Linked DNA regions of Homo sapiens: region 2 is linked to region 1. Evidence: promoter capture Hi-C in human tissues and cell types (Jung and others, 2019). All regions are on one chromosome and are shown on one strand. The core of a region is centred on a gene start or on the middle of the fragment in contact, and the rest is flanking DNA. Distances in the headings are between cores, read along the strand shown.

Evidence for each region. The method cuts DNA at HindIII sites, captures the fragments that hold promoters and counts their contacts. A contact is called where the count stands out against the background at its distance.
Region 2: a contact is called between a fragment that was not itself captured here and the fragment with the promoter of BSPRY in region 1, in 2 of the 25 tissues and cell types used here (heart left ventricle and mesendoderm cells).

Annotation. Positions count from the first base shown.
Region 1 is chr9:113,347,494-113,350,790 of GRCh38, reverse strand. BSPRY (B-box and SPRY domain containing) reads right to left here and starts at 1,250. Exons shown (of 6, transcript NM_017688.3): 1 at 1,011-1,250. The coding sequence starts at 1,211. RefSeq lists silencers at 903-1,182, 1,213-1,282. The HindIII fragment of the contact is 5,403 bases long and covers 1-3,297 here.
Region 2 is chr9:113,492,753-113,496,049 of GRCh38, reverse strand. It overlaps RGS3 (regulator of G protein signaling 3), which reads right to left. Exons shown (of 23, transcript NM_001394167.1): 6 at 204-264. Among named protein-coding and RNA genes, the nearest start is that of RGS3, 31 kb to the right of the region's middle. The HindIII fragment of the contact is 6,530 bases long and covers 1-3,297 here.

The DNA.
Region 1 (3,297 bases), core at 1-2,500:
AACAGGTAGGACGAACCAGGAGCTTTTGGGTGTTGCTGAAAAACTGAACCCCTCCCGAGCCCAGCACCCTATATAAGATGTGTTTATTACAGGTCACTCTGGGTAGGCGAAGTCCCCAGCCAGAGCCCTCAGGCTTCACAGCAGGGGTGAACTGCAGAGTCGGGTTGGGAGAAACAAGCTGTTTAATCAAATTGCAAGGAAATCCCCAGGGGCCACAGAGAAGCCCAAGGTGACTTCGACTCTCCCAATCTCAGCAGCTCAGGAGAATGGTGATGACAAGGAGGTGGCCACCCTGGAGCCGAGCTGGAAGTGGAGGTGGCGAGAAAGCCTGGGTGAAGGGGAATCCCCTGATATTCTCCCTACCCCCACCGTTTATCCAGCTGAAGCCCTTAAACCAGCCTGAAGTACAGTCAAGGCCAATCCTGAAAGCGAAAAAGAGATCACCGCACCAGAAGCCAGAAGGGGTTAGGAGCAGGGGGAAGAGGCGAAAGGAGGAGGGGGGCTTTGAGTCCAGGGGTTAAGGGATACGGTCGCGCTGGATTTTATCAGTGTCAGTTTCCACAGGGGCGGGAGCTGGGGCACACCCTGCGCTGAGAACTGGAGCAGCTGAGCCTTTCATGCCAGCCCCAGCTTCCTCAACAGAGCAATGGAAGGGGCCTGGGGAGCCTGGATCCCCTTATCGCTAAGCATTTTACCCACTATCTTATTTATTTCTCACAACTCTAATAAATACGCGCTATTATTATTGTTGTTGTCCCCAAACTACAGATGAAGACACTGAGGCTCAGAGTTACGTGACTCACAGGGAGTAGATTCGAACTCAGGCCAGCCTGACTTCAGAGGCCACACCCTTAACCGCCTAGTCCTACAGCCAAAGCCACCGAGGAGCCTAGGCTCCGGGGCCGGGTGTCGAGTCCGCCCAGCCCCAGGCTCCCCAGTCCCTGCCGGGTCCCGCCAGGCGCGCCCGGGGTCTCCGGAGCCCTCGCCTTCCGGCGCCCACACCCGCTCACCCGCAGCTCCTCGGCGCGCTCCTCCGCCCGGCGGATGCGGTGCCCCCGGCAGCGACCGCCCAACCCCGCGCAGGCGGCGCACACGGGCCGTCGCTCGGAGCCGCAGAACCAGCTCAGAGCCTGGCCGTGTTCGGGGCAGAGTGGCCCCGGCCCGGGCCCGGACCCGGACCCCGGCCCCGGCTCCGCGCCCTCGGCGGACATGGCCGTGCGCCCGCCCCGTGCGCTCCACCTGTCGCAGGTGGCGGCGGGCGGGGCCTGGCTGACCCCGCCCCCGGCCCTCCCGGTGCGCCAGCGCGCCCCGCAGCTGCGCCTCCTCCCACCCAACCCGCGCTCCCATCCCGCCCGGGGCAGCAGGTCTCTTTAAATTCCTTGTTGAATGAAATCGCGATTGTATGCGTATTTGTTCTACAACAAACATAAAACTCCAAATATTACTGTGACCGTAGGAAACTTTATTGAGCACTTATTAAGTGCCAGGCTTTCGCTGAGAGCTTTGCAAGCGTTCTGTTATGTAATCCCGACCACTGCCCTTTTTGAGAGGCAGCTTTAGATGCCTAGCTTCAAGCAAGGCTCTGCTGAGAAACTGCCTGGTTCAAATCCCGTTTGGCTGCTCACTGGGTGGGAACTCCAGCTGTAAAATGGGGTGAGAGTACCTGCCTCCCAGACGTCTGAGGAGTAAATACGCTAAATACGTAAAACAATATCTGGAACATAGCAGCTGCAATCGCTAAGTGTCTACTAACAGTGCGAGGAAAGTACTATTAGGATCCCATTTTTATGGAAGTTAAGTGGCTTGCCAAGGGTCACAGTTACTAATTGGTAGCTATGAGATTGGAACCTAGGCAGTGTGACTTAAGGTTACTATAATTAATAATTTTTTAAATTGAACATTGAGGCCCAGTGAGAAATATCTGTATTAGGCTGATTTTCCCAAAGTATTTACATCCAAACTTTTTGAATTTGAATATTTGAGTTTTCTTTTTAAACTAGCATTGAAAAAAAGTAATGCCTTTTTATTTCGAAGAAAACAAAATATGCAAATAAGCATGTGGAAGAAAAATCCACCCACTCCCACCCCAGAAAGAAAAACTGCTAACATGTTCCTGAGCTGTTTAGGGCTTTTCCCACCCTCAGGATCTTATATATTAGTCTGAGCCCAGATTGAGCCCTCTGCTGGGGATCCAGTCTAGTCTGTCTGGGCATACAAGGAGAACGCTGCTCTCCAGCTCTAAATTCTTCTTCTTCTTTTTTTTTTTTATTTTTTTTTATTTTTTTGAGATAGGGTCTCACTGTGTCACCCTGGCTGGAGTGCAGTGGTGTAATCATAGCTCACTGCAGCCTCGACCTCCCCAGCTCAAGTGATCCTCCCACCTCAGCCTCCTGAGTAGCTGGGACTACAGGCACATGCCACCGTGCCCAGCTAAGTTTTGTATTTTTCGTAGAGACAGGGTTTTGCCATGTTGCCCAGGCTGATCTCAAACTCCTGGGCTCAAGCCATCTCCCCCCTTCAGCCTCCCAAAGTGCTGGGATTACAGGTGTGAGCCACCGCGCCCGGCCACCAACCCCAAATTCTTTCTTAGGAGTCTTGGCAGAAAGCTGGGCACTCTCTCAAAAGGGGAAGGGCCCAGGCCTTCAGGTGTCAGAGAGTACTCTGAGTGCATCAGAACTGAACACAGGCGGGAGCTAAACCGAAAGAGAAACATTACATCCCATAGCTCACAGGGGCTCTAGCACCTCTACTCTGAAGCTTCTCTAAGCAATGGCCACACAAAGGAGATAGAACCCTTTCCTTCTCAGCCACTACTGCTTTAGCACCTGAGGGGTAAGGGCAGCTAACAGCCCCAGAGCTACCCAGAGCGGTACACAGTGGTGTCATCATCCAATGGGGACACATTGTCACCCCAGATAGACAATATTACACCATATGATTAGAGAGAACACTGAGTGAAATATAGTCATTGGTTTCATCCCAGCTATGCAGCTTACAGCTATGGGATCTTGGTCAGGTTACTCACAGCTTCTGTGTCTGTTTTCTTATCTCTACAACAGAGGTGATAATAATACTATCATCTACCTTAGAGGGCTACTTCAAGAATGAAATGAGATCTTGTCTACAAAGTATTTACTTTGGGTGTCTGATATACAGTAGGGGATAATAAAAGGTTTTATTATATGTGTGAGGATCTGTAAATACAGTTGTAGCAGGTTTCAGAATGTAAATTGTGTGAGGTTCTTTGGCGACAGGGGTGCTGCTTTCCTGGCATCTAAAGAAGTTTCCAGTGCATCC
Region 2 (3,297 bases), core at 268-2,767, 140 kb before region 1:
ACAAACCAAGAAGGGGACCCAAACTCTCAGCTAGGCAGGTAATAAACACAGTGCTGCTATGCAGGCCACCCCACAGGGCACCTGTCTCAGTGGGGCACCATCTCACAGAGAGAAGCCCTGCCCAAGAGCTGACAGAGAAACTCTGCCTGTACCAGCCCCGGCCCAGTTGGGATGATCCTGACAGAAGCATCCCTAGGACCCACCTTGTCTGGAGTCAGGAGAGACTTCACCCCAAAGCTCATGCAGCCAATGAGTCCACTCTGTCTGGGAGAACAAGTGAGACTTGAGTCAGCATTTTTTTTCTGGGCTCTATCGGGAGGTCCATTATCAAGTATAGCATGGGTTTGCCTGATGCACTGTGGTTTACAAAGCTTTTTACCCACATCATCTCGTTTGATCCTTCTGACTCTGTGAGGCAGGATAGAGAGGAGCTATTATCTCCATTTTACAGAGGGAAAAATGGAGACTCAGAGTTGGTCCCTTTCCCAAGGTCACAGGACAAGTTCAGCACTGCCTCTACCAAACACAGAAGCTCAGCGGTACTTCATGAGTTTTAACCGTTCTGGTGCTAGGTAGATCTGAAGAGCTGGTCCCCACAGGGAACCTCCTTGCCCACATCATTGGTGATGCTCAGTGGAGGAGAACAGTTATGGGACCTCAAGCTCAAGAAGTTCTATCTCAGGTCCAGGAAGGAGCTGAGCAGTTCTTAGATGGCTACAGATCAAGGTCCAAACCAACCTGACACAAAAGCTGCTGAGACCAATCTGACCTGGCCACCAGCAGGGCAGGTAGGCATGGGCCAGGGTCAGGCCTCATGGGGATGTCAGACTATGGCGAGGGGCTAAATTCAATCTTCTTGGTTAAAAAGAATTCACAGCTGGGCACGGTGGCTCACGCCTGTAATGCCAGCACTTTGGGAGGCACAGGCAGGCAGATCACTTGAGGTCAGGAGTTTGAGAACAGCCTGGCCAACATGGTGAAACCCTGTCTCTACTAAAAATACAAAAATTAGCCCTACGTGGTGGTGCATGCTTATAATCCTAGCTACTCAGGAGGCTGAGGCAGGAGAGTCACTTGAAACCAGGAGGTGGAGTTGCAGTGAGCCAAGATCGCACCACTGCACTGCAGCCTGGGTGACAGAGCCAAGACTCCATCTCAAAAAAAAAGAAGAAGAAGAAGAAGAAGAATTCAGAGTTCCTGAAGAATGTCCACCATTGAGGCTCAATGTCCAATAATCAGGGACTAAGAGTTGGCAGCTTTTAATAATGATGGCATGGGCCAGGTGCAGTGGCTCACACCTGTAATCCAGCACTTTGGAAGGCATCACTTGAGCCCAGGAGTTTGAGACCAGCCTGGACAACAAAGGGAGACACCATCTCTACAAAAAATTTTTAAAATAGCAGGGCATGGTGGCATGAGCCTGTAGCCCCAGCTACTGAGGAGGCTGAGGTAGGAGGATCACTTGAGCCTGGGAGGTCAAAGCTGCAGTGAACTGTGATTGTGTGTTACTGTTCCTCCCTCTTGGGAAGTGGCCAAGTCAGCACTAACAGGAGGCAGTTGCAGCAACAGAGCAAGACACTGTCTCAAAAAAATAATAATGATAACATCAGTTAATATTAATAAAGTCCAAAAATATCTTGATATTGTTAGAGAAAAAGAAGTTTACAAAGCTGTAAATTTAATGAGTAATGTGAGTTTAATGAGAAAGACACCCACAAAAATACTAACAATGGTCATATCTGGTAGGTGGGATTACTAGGGGTTTAATTTTCCTTTATGGGTTTTCACTGTTTGCATAGGGAACAAGTATCGTTTTTATAATCAGGAGAAAAAAAAAGACAGTATCAATATACTTTTAAGGACTTTTATTGTGCCACATCCTGTTCTATCCTGACAGTAAGAGTTTTTTTTTAATGTCATCTTTCTGTTCTCCTCTCTCTTACCCCATCCTCAACTTGGACTAATTCATAGGTTGGTTTAATAACTATTAATCAAGAAACATCGTGGATATTTAGGCTGGAGCATAACCCTGGAGGCTGGCTTCAATAGCTGAAGGACCCACATAGCTGAGAGATTTGGCATGTCCTATGGAAGGCACAATATCAAAACCAAAGATGGAACAGGCTTCTGGATAGGTAGTAAACTCCCTAGAGATGTGTTTTCCAAAACCTGGTCTAAGGGGGCCTGAGCTAGAGCAGTGGTTCTATCCAGAAGTGTACCACAAAACCACCTGAACAGCCTGTCTGAGGTATATGCTCCAGGACTTCTTCCTGAGAACCCAAAATTAGTTGGTCCAAGGTGGGGTTCGAGCATGGGAGCCTGGAGAAAGCTCTCCAGGGTATCCTGCCAAGCACCCACTTATGCCTGCCCCAGTCAAAGACCAGTGATCTAGAAGGTCTCAAAAAAGACATATTGTTCAGATTCTCCAGAAAGCGTGGCAGCTTACCACCGGACAGTCCTAAGCAAAACAAAACTAGCTTCTCACAGGCAGCCAAGTCAAGCGAGGGGTGGGGAGGCAGGATGCTGGGGGATTGCTCCTCAAAACTGGTCCACCTGCCTGCAAACCCATGCTCTGCCCCATGGCCCAGAGCTGAGGCCCCTGCTTCTGGCTGTCTCTCAACAGCTGCTCTCAGTTCATCACTCCTGCTCCCAGCTCCTTCAGCCTTGGCTCCATCTGCTGCCTTCTTCCTTGCCTCTCTCATCATCCAAGGCTCTATTAATAATCTATTCAAAAAGGACAATGCTCTCACCCCAATAAAGTGCCCTTCCACATCCACCTCCCCAGCCCACCACCAAAAACAAATACTCCTCCCCCTTGGGAAGTAGCCAAGTCAGCACTAATAGGAGGCAGTTGCAGTGACTATCATAAACAGCCAAAACTAATCTGAGCTGCCATTCCAGAAAAGCCTTGGCAAGACTTTGCCAAAGTCCTCATACCAATTTCATTTTATTTGTCACACATTCAAGAGAACTCCAGCTGCTATCCAGGTGCCCATACTACTCTGTTGTACACTTCTTTCCTACTGGGTAGGGCTGAAACTTTCAAAGTCTCCAGGCCAATGCATTAGCTCAGCAACCTCTCTCTGCTCTTCACTAAGCGAAATCTTCATTCCCTGGTGTTTAGAGAATGTTAAATGGTTAATAGCCTCCCTCGAGTTTTACTTCCTGCTAAGGGGCCTCCCATGCTTTCATGGTAACTCAGGCAGCGTAAATTGCCACAATTAATGTCCATAAGCAGGAACCTCTCTCTAAGTGTTCTTCAATTAGCTATTTCTTATGCCTGCTTTTGAAAAATCT